Regions from separate parts of the Homo sapiens genome. Here region 2 is linked to region 1. Evidence: promoter capture Hi-C in 16 types of primary human blood cells and fetal thymus (Javierre and others, 2016). All regions are on one chromosome and are shown on one strand. The core of a region is centred on a gene start or on the middle of the fragment in contact, and the rest is flanking DNA. Distances in the headings are between cores, read along the strand shown. Region 1 holds the start of SDSL (serine dehydratase like). Region 2 holds the start of MIR6762 (microRNA 6762).

Evidence for each region. The method cuts DNA at HindIII sites, captures the fragments that hold promoters and counts their contacts. A CHiCAGO score of 5 or more calls a contact.
Region 2: a fragment that was not itself captured here is called in contact with the fragment with the promoter of SDSL in region 1 in 1 of 17 cell types (M0 macrophages); the score reaches 5.5 in M0 macrophages.

What each region holds. Positions count from the first base shown.
Region 1 is chr12:113,418,813-113,425,251 of GRCh38, forward strand. It overlaps SDSL (serine dehydratase like), which reads left to right and starts at 3,568. Exons shown (of 8, transcript NM_001304993.2): 1 at 3,568-3,665. The HindIII fragment of the contact is 13,599 bases long and covers 3,360-6,439 here.
Region 2 is chr12:113,286,142-113,292,481 of GRCh38, forward strand. TPCN1 (two pore segment channel 1) reads left to right here. Exons shown (of 28, transcript NM_017901.6): 19 at 846-953; 20 at 2,022-2,093; 21 at 2,617-2,706; 22 at 3,987-4,102; 23 at 4,811-4,857; 24 at 5,468-5,536; 25 at 5,733-5,817. It overlaps MIR6762 (microRNA 6762), which reads left to right and starts at 5,382; the gene lies at 5,382-5,467. RefSeq lists an enhancer at 1,579-1,746. The HindIII fragment of the contact is 2,017 bases long and covers 3,310-5,326 here.

The sequences.
Region 1 (6,439 bases), core at 2,318-4,817:
TGTAGGGTTTATTATAATACTTACTTTTCCAGGTAGTTGTTAGCATTCTGTAATATAATGACATCATGGTACTTTGAACGCTTACGTGCCACCTTTGCAACTTTTGCCATATTGTCCCATCACCTCTTTTATATTAGCAATACAAAACAATAGCAGCTGGGCGCCGTGGCTCATGCCTATAATCCCACCACTCTGGGAGGCCAAGGCAGGCAGATCACTTGAGGTCAGGAGTTTGAGAGCAGCCTGGCCAACATGGTGAAACCCTGTCTCTACTAAAAATACAAAAATCAGCCAGGCGTGGTGGTGCAAGCCTGTAATCCCAGCTACTTAGGAGGCTGAGGCAGGAGAATCCCTTGAACCCGTGAGGCAGAGTTTGCAGTGAGCCAAGATCGCGCCATTGCACTCCAGCCTGGGCGACAGAGTGAATGGTGAGACTCTGTCTCAAAAAACAAAACAAAATAAAGCAAAAGCAACAGCAGCGAACACAGAGCACTAACTACTGTCCTAATATTTTCCTGCATTAATGCATTTGATCCTCACATCCACTGTACTAGGGAAGTAGTGTTTTATCCCCATCTTACATTTGAGGGAACAAGGCACAGAGAGGTTAAGTGACTTACAAAAGGTCACAGGGTCACACAGTGAGAAAGTGGCAGAACAAGTATTTGTATCAGAGCCTGGCTGCAGGTCTGTGTTTTAACTACTAGGCATGCTGCTTGTTCATGCCAGAAACTACTACTACTATTATTGCTACTAATAATTTATATACAAATATATATATTATATACAAATATATATATATTTATATACAAATATATATAATATACAAATATATATTTATATACATATACATATTTATATACAAATATATATATTTATATACATATATATTTGTATACAAACATGTATATTTGTATACAAATATATATATTATATACAAGTATATATATTTATATAAATATATATTATATACAAATATATATATTTATAAACATATATATACACACACACATATATATATTTATATATGTTTTTTAAGACGGAATTTCGCTCTTGTTGCCCAGGCTGGAGTGCAATAGCACGACCTCGGCTCACTGCAAACTCCACTTCCCCGGTTCAAGTGATTCTCCTGTCTCAGCCTCCCGAGTAGCTGAGATTACAGGCGCCCACCACCATGTCCAGCTAGCTTTTTGTATTTTTAGTAGTGATGGGGTTTCACTACATTGGCCACGCTCAAACTCCTGACCTCAGGTGATCCAGCTGCCTCGGCATCCCAAAGTGCTGGGATTACAGGCATGAGCCACCATGCCTGGCCAATTAATATATTTTTTAAAGAGGCTCCATTTTTAAACTTTAATACCTACCTTAGCTTCTTCCTAAGCCATCATATCCATGAAACTATGGGTCTGATATTTTATATGTACATACACATACATATGTATACACATATATATATACCTACATACATACACACATCTTTCCTAATGCACACAGAAATAGATTGCCAACTATTAAAAAACCTTTGGGGGCTGGGCGCAGTGGCTGTTGCCTGTAATCCGAGCATTTTGGGAGGCTAAGGTAGGAGGATTGCTTGAGGTCAGGAGTTCAAGATCAGCCTGGGCAGCACAGTGAGACCTCGTTTGTAAAACAAACAAACAAACAAACAAACAAACAAATAAACAGTGTGGGTTACGCTGGACAGCATGCACGTGTTGGTGTACAGTAGACATGCACTAAATGCAGCTAGTCTGCTTCTTGTCAAAGTCTGAGCTGTGTGCTGAGTCTCTGCCTACTTCAAGAAGCCCTCCCTGATCTTGCCCCATCCCCAGCTACCCTATGGGGACTTTCTGCCCTCTGTCATCTTAGGAAGTGTTATTGTTGCTACCGAATTGGGTGTCTTCCTCTCCCCTCCATGCTGGGGGCCACTTCAAGGCACAAACTGGATTTTATCACCTCTGTGTCCCCAGTACCCAGTCCAGGACAAGGCACCCAACAAGGATGGATGTGTGTCTAAAGCGAGGATGGGTAGAAACTTGCCAGAGTCCACATTAAGGATCACGGCCAAGCAGCTCCATCTAACCCCAAGTGGCTGGGAGTTAATCATCAAACCTGGGGAGATCAGAAACAGCCCAAGAAGGACACACAACATCTGTGATGCCAGGTCTTCCTGTTCCCACTTTCCACATAGGGAAACTGAGGCCCAGAGATGGGCACGAGCTGCTCAGGTTCACCCAGTGAGATGGTGCAGAGACAAGACATGAATTTGACCATGTCATTCCCCCCACCTAAAGCCTTCTGTGGCTCCCTAGTGCCCCTGGGTAAGGTCCAAACTCTGGATTGGTACAGGCATCCCTGTGGACTCTGATCTCTGCCCACATCTCCAGCCTCAACCCCACTTGCTTCCCCACCCCTGCCTTCTCCCTCCCAGCCCCACTGGATACTACCCTGACCCTGGAATATATCATGTTTTTCATTTCCAGACCTTTGCACTCCCTGTGCCTGACTCCTGGCTCCACTCAGACTTCCCCTCCTCCAGGAAGCCTCCCCAGCCCCCCAGGGCCAGGCGGGGTGCCTGCTCTGGGTTCCACAGCCCTGCCCCACCCTGCCAGCTGCTAACATCTGATAGCACTAATAAGTGCTCTCTAATGGCCCTCTCTAAGGGCTTTGTGAAGGCAGAGGACATGCTATTTTGTTTGAGGCCAAAGTTCCAGGGATTGGCACATAGTAGGTGTCCAATAAACATTTAATGAATGAATGAATGGTCAGTCATTCATCTGAGTAGCAAATAATTGCTTGGGTTCTCATGCTGCGTGTAAAATATCCGAGACGGAGAGGTGCTTCAGACAAAAATATACCTTTCCCATGTCACAAATAATAATTATAATAATTGTTTCCTTGGCCAGGTGCAGTGGCTCACGCCTGTAATCCCAGCACTTTGGGAGGCAGAGGCAAGCAGATCACCTGAGGACAGGAGTTCGAGACTGGCCTGGCCAACATGGTCAAACCCTGTCCCTACTAAAAATACAAAAATTAGCTGGCGTGGTGGTGGGTGCCTGTAAACCTGGCTACTTGGGAGGCTGAAGTGGGAGAATCGCTTGAATCCAGGAGGCGGAGGTAACAGTGAGCCGAGATCGCACCATTGCACTCCAGCCTGGGGGACAAGAATGAAACTGTGTCTCAAAAAAAAAAAGTTCCCTTGTCCTTGTTTTCCCATCCCAGACCTAAGCTGACCCCAACAGTGGTTCAGCATCCGGGACAATCACTAGACCTAAAATGAGAAGACATGGAGATGCCTGCATCCCGGAAGAGATGGCCCAGGGCCAGGGGTAAAGGCTGTCTCTGCCCCTTGCTGTCTGGGAAGCTTTGGCCAAATAAGTTCCCTTTTCTGAGTTTCAGTTTGCTCATCTGTCAAATGAGACAGGGTGGTGCATGAGTCATAGGCAGTGCCCGGGAAAGCGGTGAGGGTTGCTCTCATCCCCTCTCCTCCTCCGTCTTCACCCGGAGGCTTAGGGTCTGGAGCTTTCTCTTTAACAAAGGAGGAGGGACCAAGGTTGCCGGAAGCTGCCTGAAGCTGGACAGAGCCGGTTCCTGGAAAGAGCTGGTTCCCTGGCAGGCTGGAGGGCAGGAGCTGGGGCCACGCTGGTCTGGGATAGTTGGGCAGGGAGGTAAGGGGTCTGGGGCCAGCTGGGGCCCCTGGGGCTCAGTGTGTGTGTGAATGAGAGGCTGATGAGAGGCTGCAGGAGTTTGGGAGGCTTTGGGCAAAGTCCAAGCTGAGCAGGTGGGAGTGAGAGGGCCTGAGCGTGTTCTAGGCCCTCCTGGGAATGTCGATTGAATTCAGGGTGCCCTGCAGAAGAAAGTGTTGTGCTGGGGACCCTGAAGGGCGAGAGTGGGTTCTGCCTGCCAGAGGGGCAGGGTTGGGCATTCTGCCAGCCAAGGGGCCAGCCCGAGGTGTCCCAGCCCTGGCACCAGGGATTTGGCTGTGGAGTGCCACCAAGGTGGCCTCTGGGGAAAGGCTTTGGGGACAAGTGAGGTGGACAGCACTGGTGGTCCTTACCTCAACTCATAGATGTGACAGGTAAGGCCCAGTGACAAAAGTGACTTGGCCAAGGTTGGCATGACTGGGACCTGAGCCTGAGCCCCCTGCTTTCCCCTGGGTTATTCCACAGCAGGGAGACCCAGGTCCCCCATTTCAGCCCTGGTGGCTGCCATACGGGACAAGAGGTGTGTGTCCCTGGGCCAAGACAGCTCAGTCCCAGACCTCAGGTGCCTGATGGGGTCTGGGGTTGATAAGGCTGTTGGCAACTTGGGGCTTTTTCATTTAACTGATGCCTGCTGTCCTCTTGTGAGTCAGTATAACCAAGAGGGCTGGGGAAGCCTGGAAACTGAGCCAGGAGCATTTGGTTCCAAAGGACAATTGGCAATAAATATTAAATGCATGCAGCTTTCATAATAGTAACGATAACACTAGTATATTAGAGAAAGTATAGCATCGCGGTTAATAGCACAGATGCCAAAGACACTGCCTGGTGTGAATTCTGGCTATGCTGTTTCTAACTGTGTGAACTTGGATAAGTTACTTAATCTCTCTGGACCTCAGGTTCACTGTTTATAAAATGGAGTCAATGGTGAGTTAATGACTCATCTGTTGTGAGCCAACAGGTGGCTCACACCTGTTATCCTAGTGTTTTGAGAGGCAGAGACAAGAGATTTACCTGAGGCCAGGAGTTCAAGACCAGCCTGGACAACTCAGCAAAACTGCATCTCTATAAAAATTAAAATATCAGCCGGATACAGTGGTGCATGTCTACAGTTCCAGCTACTCAGGAAGCTGAGGTGGGAGGATTGCTTGAGCCCGGGACTTCAAGGTTACAGTGAGCCATGATCGTGCCACTGCACTCCAGCCCAGGCAACAGAGTGAGACCTTGTCTCTAAAACAAACACCAAAAAAACAAGAAAGCGGAAGGATTATGGAGTAGGGGGAGTTCATCCTGACAATCCCAGGATCCCCAGGGGAAAAATCTGGGGATTTCACCAAAAAGGAAGAGAGACCCAATTCCAAGTGGACAGACACCCAACATGGGTGCCCTTACCATGCAGGCTCATTGAATCCTCACAATAGTCCTGCCATGTACACGCTCTTCTTGCAGTTTGTTGTGTGGTTGGTTGGTTCTCATTTTTCGGGTCTAATTTTTAATTTTTTATTATTTTTTTTGAGACAGAGTTTCCCTCTTACTCTCTAGGCTGGAGTGCAATGGCGCGATCTCGGCTCACTGCAACCTCGCCTCACCGCAACCTCGCCTCTCAGGTTCAAGCAATTCTCCTGCCTCAGCCTCCCGAGTAGCTGGGATTACAGGCATGCGCCACCATGCCCGGCTAATTTTGTATTTTTAGTAGAGACGGGGTTTCTCCATGTTGGCCAGACTGGTCTTGAACTCTTGACCTCAGGTGATCCGCCTGCCTCTGCCTCACAAAGTGCTGGGATTACAGGCATGAGCCACCGCGCCCTGTCTCAGTTCTTAGTTTTAATGGTCACTTCCTCTAAGAGGTCTTTCCTGACCTCCATACCCAAAGTAGGTCCCCTTGTTCTTCTCTTTAGGACTCCCTATATGCGTGTTTCCCTCTTAGAAGTTTTCAACATTTCTGATTATTTTGTTTGTCTATGCAGTTATTTGTTAAGTGCCCATCTCATCAGGCTATAATTCAGCTCCAAGGTTGATGTCTATCTTGTCCACAGTGGTATCCCCTGTTGCTAGGTCAGGGCCTGCATCTTGTAGGTGCCCTGTAAACATGCTAAAGTAAGGGTAAGCAGGTCACCATGCTCAAAGCATGACACAAGGTATCAGTGAGATAACGTCTCCAGAGGACTCAGCTGATGACTGGCACATAATAGGGACTCAACAAATGACAGATGTTATTCTCTCTCTCTCTCTTTTTTTTTTTTTAAAGACAGTCTCACTCTGTTGCCCAGGCTGGAGAACAGTGGTGAGATCTTGGCTCACTGCAATCTCCACCTCCCAGGTTCAAGCAATTCTCCCACCTCAGCCTCCCAAGTAGCTGGGACTACAGGTGTGCACCACCACACCCGGCTAATTTTTGTATTTTTAGTAGAGACGGGGTTTCACCATGTTGGCCACGCTGGTCTTGAACTCCTGACCTCAAGGGATCCACCCGCCTCAGCCTCCCAAAGTGCTGGGATTATAGGCATGAGCCACTGCACCTGGCCAATGTTATTCTTATTAACTTACACCACAACCTGTGAGTTGGGGACTGTTTTTATCCCCATTTTAGAGAAGGGGAAACAGGCACAGAGAGGTTGTGACACTTGTTTGGGTCACACAGCCAGGAAGTCGGAGCTGGTTTCTAACTTTTGCTTCTGGTCGACCCCAAAGCCTGTGCTCTTGGGGTCCAGGGTTGAGCTGAGGCCTAGGCTGGGGTATGC
Region 2 (6,340 bases), core at 3,068-5,567, 130 kb before region 1:
GGCCCTTGTCTGAAGCCTCTCAGACCACCCACACCGTCCTTCTGGAAACGGCCTCTTGAGGTGCCATAGACTGATTGGCTCTTCCTGACTCATTAAACTTTTTTCTCTTCCATAAAAGCCACAATGCCCACAGAAAAGAATGCTCCCCCCCTTCCTTGATCAGCAGTAATGAGACCCCATGTGGCCCTTCTCCCTATTCCCCAGAGCGTTGGAGGTCACTTCCCTGCCCTGTTCAAGTTAACCGGCCTGTGAAGTCAGGCTGCACTCATGAGGTCTTGGGCCGCGAGGGTGAGCGGGTTAACACGCAGAGCGGAGTTGGGAGGAGCCGACAGCACGTGTGTGCCCTGCGTGTCTGGAGAGGAGAGAGGGTCCTCTGGCTTGGGGCAGGGCGAGCTGTTCTCCCGATGGGAATCTCACTGGAAGGGCCTGCTCTCTTCCCTCAAAAAGTTCCTTGGGGTCAGGCTGGTCTGCAGTGTGTAACCAGATGTCTGTTGAGCGGAAGACGAGGCCTGTCTCCAGGGCTGCGGAGGCCAGGGCTGCAGAGGCCGGGGCTTCTTTCCTTCTTGTCGTTAGACCAGCATGGGGCCCTTTGTAGGGGTTCCCGGGCATTTCTGGCCTTGGGGTCAGAGCACTGAGGCCTGACCCGTGAGACGCATGCTGGGACAGGGCCTGGCCACCTTGAAACCCCAGGGTGGCAGGAAGTTCTTCCCGCAGCCGGCTGGTTCCTGTTGGTGTTGCTGTGTCTGGGCTCTGTGGGAGGGTGGCTGTGCACAGGGCCAGGGAGGGGAGCAGGCGCAGGTAGGCTCAGGGCCACAGGGTGGACCTTGGCCTCTCCCCTACTGCAGGTTTGACTTCTCCGTGACAGTGTTCGCCTTCCTGGGACTGCTGGCGCTGGCCCTCAACATGGAGCCCTTCTATTTCATCGTGGTCCTGCGCCCCCTCCAGCTGCTGAGGTGATGGGCAGGGCAGAGCCGGAGACAGGGAGAAAGAGAGGGAGGACGGGAATGCCCCAGGATTGATCCGGGAAGTGACCCAGAATGAGCCAGAAGGTTCACAAGCCAGAGTCACAGATGTCACCCCCTGGAGAATCACCATGGGGTCAACATCCCCACCCCTGAGGGTGTGCAGGCTGCCTGTGCCCTTCCCCTCACTGCACCAGGTGCCTCTGGGCAGAGAAACCCAGCCCATGACTCATGTGCACCCCACCTGAGGTGGCATTGCACCAGCGACAGGAGCCCATATGCTCAAGTCACAGATCACAGAGCCACAGGTCTGAGGGTTGGAAGGGCCTTTCAGGGGCCCTGCGTGCTTTTCTGGCTCAGCGTCTTATGGAGAAAAACCCTCGTGTGGGTCCCACTGGTTTCCCAGGGACACTGGAGAAAGTCCCAGACGAGCCTGCCCCACTGACGGTGTCTCTTCCTAATGAGGGGTCCCGAGGTCCTGTGCCCTCAGAGCCTGGGCTTGCCTCCTGACCCTCCAGCTGCAACCCCATCCACGTCCGCCCCATCCTCTCCCAAGGCGGGACAGGCGGGGCAGGTGCGGGGAGGGGTGGTGGCGTCTATGGAGGAAAAGCCTACCCCCTTGGCGTGTGGGGGTGGCCTGGGGCTGCTCCTGAGTGTCCGCCTCCGTCCCGCCCCCTGCCACCCTTCTTCACTGGTGAGCTCCATTGCCCCCGCTCCCCGGGGCACATGGGCTTCTCCCCGCTCTTTCCCAGGAGCAAGGCCTTGCTCCTGTCTGAGCCTGCAGCTCTACTGCAAGGAGATGTGGCCTGGCCCTGCTCCTCTTCGTGGAAGGACCCCGCCCAGCCGGTGTCCTGGGGCTGCCACCATCCCTTCCCTCATGCATGAATCACCTGAGCCCAGCTCAGGGTTGGTGGCGCCCAAGGGAGTGGACGCAGGTGGAGGAGAGGCCCTCACCTGTCTTCACCGCATGGCGTGTGGAAGGCGGGGCCGGCATGTTCTGAGGGCGGGGGCTGAGGCGTGCACCTGTGTGTGGAGGTGACGGGTGTCCTCCTCGCTCAGGTTGTTTAAGTTGAAGGAGCGCTACCGCAACGTGCTGGACACCATGTTCGAGCTGCTGCCCCGGATGGCCAGGTACTGCCAGCCCCCACCCTGGCCTGCAGGTCCAGGTGCCGTGTGGCAGTGCCCCGTGGGGGCGGGAGCCGAGTGGCAGTCGGGGGAAAGGAGTTCCACAAAGGACTGCAATCGAGGGCCTGACGGGGCTCCAAGGAGCCTGGAATCTTGACCACCACAGGTCTCCTGGGCACCATTTTTCTCCACTGACCTGTCTGACATATTTAGTAGGGAGGGCAGGGAGCTGTCAACTCGCTTACCACCTGTGTCTACATTCACAGGTAAGGGGTCACCTGTGAGTCTACCTTCACAGGTAAGGGGTGAATCTCTGGGAAAGGGGCATTTGTTCATAGCGTCCTGACTTGAGCTGTTTTTCACCCCAGAGCTGCCCCACGAGGCCCCTTCCCCGCAGGCACTTTCCAGTTGGTGAACCGACCAGGGGCATGGCCCTGCAGTCAGCCCCACGGGTCCGAGGAGGCCGGGGCTGCAGAGGAGCCGTTCCCTCCTGCCGGCCCCGCGTCACCCTGCCCCTGTCGCCCCACAGCCTGGGCCTCACCCTGCTCATCTTTTACTACTCCTTCGCCATCGTGGGCATGGAGTTCTTCTGCGGGATCGTCTTCCCCAACTGCTGCAAGTGAGTAGGCCCCACCCAGCCCCAGGCAGCCTGCATTTCCCGGGCAGAGGGCTGGCCAGGGCCAGGATTGGTGTCCTTGTGGCCTTGGGGTCCTCGGGGATGTTCCTGTCTAAGCAACCACCTTGCTTTGCTTTCAGGGCTTAGTTGAGTGCAGTGAGCTAAATGAGGGGCCTGGACTCGGGGTCCCTGTTTCTCCATCCCCCAGGCAGGGTTGGGAGCTGTCAGCTCACCCTCTGCCGAGGGCTGGAGGCCACCCCCACAGTAGCCTGGGTCCCAAGGTCAAGTCCCATGGCTTCCTCCCACTTCTCTCCTGGAGTGGCTGGGGACCTGGGCCAAGACCAGTCTTCTAGGGACAGCATCGTAGGATAAGACAGACGGACACGTGCAGGAAGGTCATGGTGCTCAGGGATGGGGAGCAGAGAGTGAAATCTCCCATGAGCACTCCCTTTCTCCTGAGCCGCCACAGTGAAATCACTGCACACTGCCATTCATTCATCCTCAATTCAGAGAGTCCTCTTACATTTGGTCTTTACAGCCTCAAGCACCGATGAAGAAACAGTTTTACAAAGACACTGGTAGCTTTGAGACCCAGTTTGAGTGTCAAGCTTGGTCTGGAACCAGAAGCCTATAGCAGTGGGTCCCAGACTTTAGAGCCCATTGCAGTCACCAGGGAGCTTAGTGCAAGCTCCAGACCTCACTCTTGTGTCTGATGCATGCGTGTGGGAGGAGGCTCCCTGGTGGCCCAAGCACTAGACTTTTATAAACATTAGCATGGATATTAACAGAACAGCCATAAAAGATTGGAAGGAAAGTGGCAAATAAGAGCTCCTCAAAACAGGGCCAACCTTTTCAAATACTTGCTCAGGCCAAGTATTGGGGAAGCCCCAGTAGGGAATTCCTTCCCTGGGACTGTGGCCTAGTGTCCAGCCTCAAGAGCAGATCCTAGATGGGGCAGGTGCAGAGGAGGCCCTTGCCTCTCCTCCCTCCCCTGCAAGCAACGGTGAGAGAGAAGGCCCTGCCTGCAGCAGACAACTTCCAGGTGACAGAGGTGGGTCAGGCTGGCCAGGGGATCCCGCCAAGCCCAGCAGGCAGGAATAGCCAAGGGCATTCCTTCAGCAGGGACCCAGGCATGAGGTGGAGAGGGTTAGGCAGGAAACCAGGCTGCGGGCAGAACAGAAGGATCCTTGGCCAGAACTCGGTTTGTTTCAGACTTCTGTCCTCTCTGGAGGTGACTGATCGCCTTGTGACCCTCCCTCCTTTCTCCCTTGTGCTCCGGCCAGCACGAGTACAGTGGCAGATGCCTACCGCTGGCGCAACCACACCGTGGGCAACAGGACCGTGGTGGAGGAAGGCTACTATTATCTCAATAATTTTGACAACATCCTCAACAGCTTTGGTGAGTGGGAAAAATCACAGGGGGCACATTCCCTGGGGACCCCACCCTTGTCACCCTTGTCACCACGGGTCCCAGAGGTGGTGTAGCAAGTGTCTGGGCCACACTTTCTGGAAGCCTCCCTGGCCCAGGTGGAGGACTTGGTCTGCCCAGCTTTGGCAGTACAGTCCAGGCTGGATCCTGGAGCTCACTCAGTTGCCTGATTCCACTCTTTCCTGATATTTTCTCAGTACCGGGGAGGACAAGAGTTGCAAGCCTTAGCTGGGCGGGGTCCCCTCATCACAGTGCCACTTGCAGAATGGGACCCAGCCACACCACTGCTGCTGCAGCTGCACTGCCCCCTGGCTCAGACTGCACACAGCCCTCTGCCCACTCCCATGAAGAGGCGAACACAGCCAAACCGCCTCTCCAGAAAAAGGGTGTGCCCCCATGACACCCCAGATCTGCACCCAGTAAGATCCAGATAGTCTGATGTGGCACAGGCTGCTGAGGCAGAGGGTGTGTTCTCTTGGGGGCAGGCCATGATGTCCTGTGGAGCCAGCGCCCTAGGAGTGCCTTGCCTGGTCTTTCCTGGAGCTCACAACCCAAGCGGTCATATGGTGACCCTCTCATCTTAGCACATGGCACCCAGGATAGGTGGCAAGAGGCCACTTGAAATTGACTTTGAAGTGGGGTCTCATCAGGATGCTTCTTTCTCTCTTCCCTCGGCAGTGACCCTGTTTGAGCTCACAGTTGTCAACAACTGGTACATCATCATGGTAAGAGCTCGGGCAGCTCTGGGGGTATCTTCCCGCCAGCCCTGGGGTCGGCCCTGGGTCTCCCCCAACCCAGAGTATATAATTCTTCCCGTAGCTTGCAGGGCTGGGGGTCTTGAGTCATGCTGTGTTGGTGTTCAGTGGGGAGGCCACAGGATGGCTGGGCCCCAGGAGCCACCCCTCCCAGTGTTGGCTGGACTCGGCTGTTACTCCCATCTCCCTGCATGTCCCCAGCAGCCAGGAGATGCCACTTAGACTCTGGGTCTCTGTCCTGTCTCGCCCACTGTAGAGATGACTTTTCCCTCTAGTGACAAAGTGGCGAGCATTGCTGATCTCTTTATTCCATTCCTTAAACTTTCCCGACTCCCAGCCCTACTGGGATAAAGGCTGCCCTGGTTCTGGATCCAGTCGTCCAGGGGAGTGGCCAGGGCTCCTTCAGCAGTCAGGAATTAGTGTTAGGCCCAGAGGGGCAAGCTTCCTCTCCTCCATCTCTCACAACCAGCCACAAATCACGGTGGGGTCTGCGAAGAGCCGGGGCCATGGAGCAGCCTGTGTAGACGGGGACCTGCCCTGCATGGGCACCCCCTCACTGGCTGCTTCCCTTGGTCTCCAGGAAGGCGTCACCTCTCAGACCTCCCACTGGAGCCGCCTCTACTTCATGACCTTTTACATTGTGACCATGGTAGGTCCCGGACCACAGAACGCTCTTTGTCCTTCGTCTTCCACATCACCAGCTGCCCCTGCTCTTCAGCCTGCAGCGTCAGGGAGTGGGGCTGGGTCCCATCTGGCCGGACTCTGTTGGGCGTGGGCTGCGCAGCCACGGACACCTACCCACCCTCCTCCCCTGCCTCTGCCCCTCCCTCCCTATCCCTGGCCAGGTGGTGATGACGATCATTGTCGCCTTTATCCTCGAGGCCTTCGTCTTCCGAATGAACTACAGCCGCAAGAACCAGGACTCGGAAGGTCTGTGCAGGGATGATGCCTTGGGCATTTGATATCTGCCGCCTACCCAGCTCTGTCTGTCTGTCTGGGTGGCTGTCCAGCCAGCCATCAGGCTGTCATTTTTCTGCTGTCTGGCTGTCCAGCTTATCTATCTGGCTTGTCTTTCTAGATCTTGTATTTGCATTGATTTTCAAATATTTAATGTCAGAAAACGTAATCTAACTTTAAAATAAGACAGAGCATGTCATAGTTGGAGAAAAATCAAGAAGTAGAGAAAGGCTTATGTGGCAGCAGCAGCCCCTGCCCTGCCTTTCCCTCCCGTCCTCCAGAGGCTTCTCCTTCTTGGCTATTTCTTCTGTTAGTCATCTCCACGTTTCTCAATAATAGGTTCACACTACGGTTCTTGATTTAAATGGTGTAAATATTGCTTATGGCACAGGCGAATCGTATTCCTGCTGCAACTGGATGGTGCTGGCTTTAGTGACTGCCTCACTCTTCCCAGATTGCACAGCTTTCTGTGTGCTGACCCTCCCTTCTTCCCAAA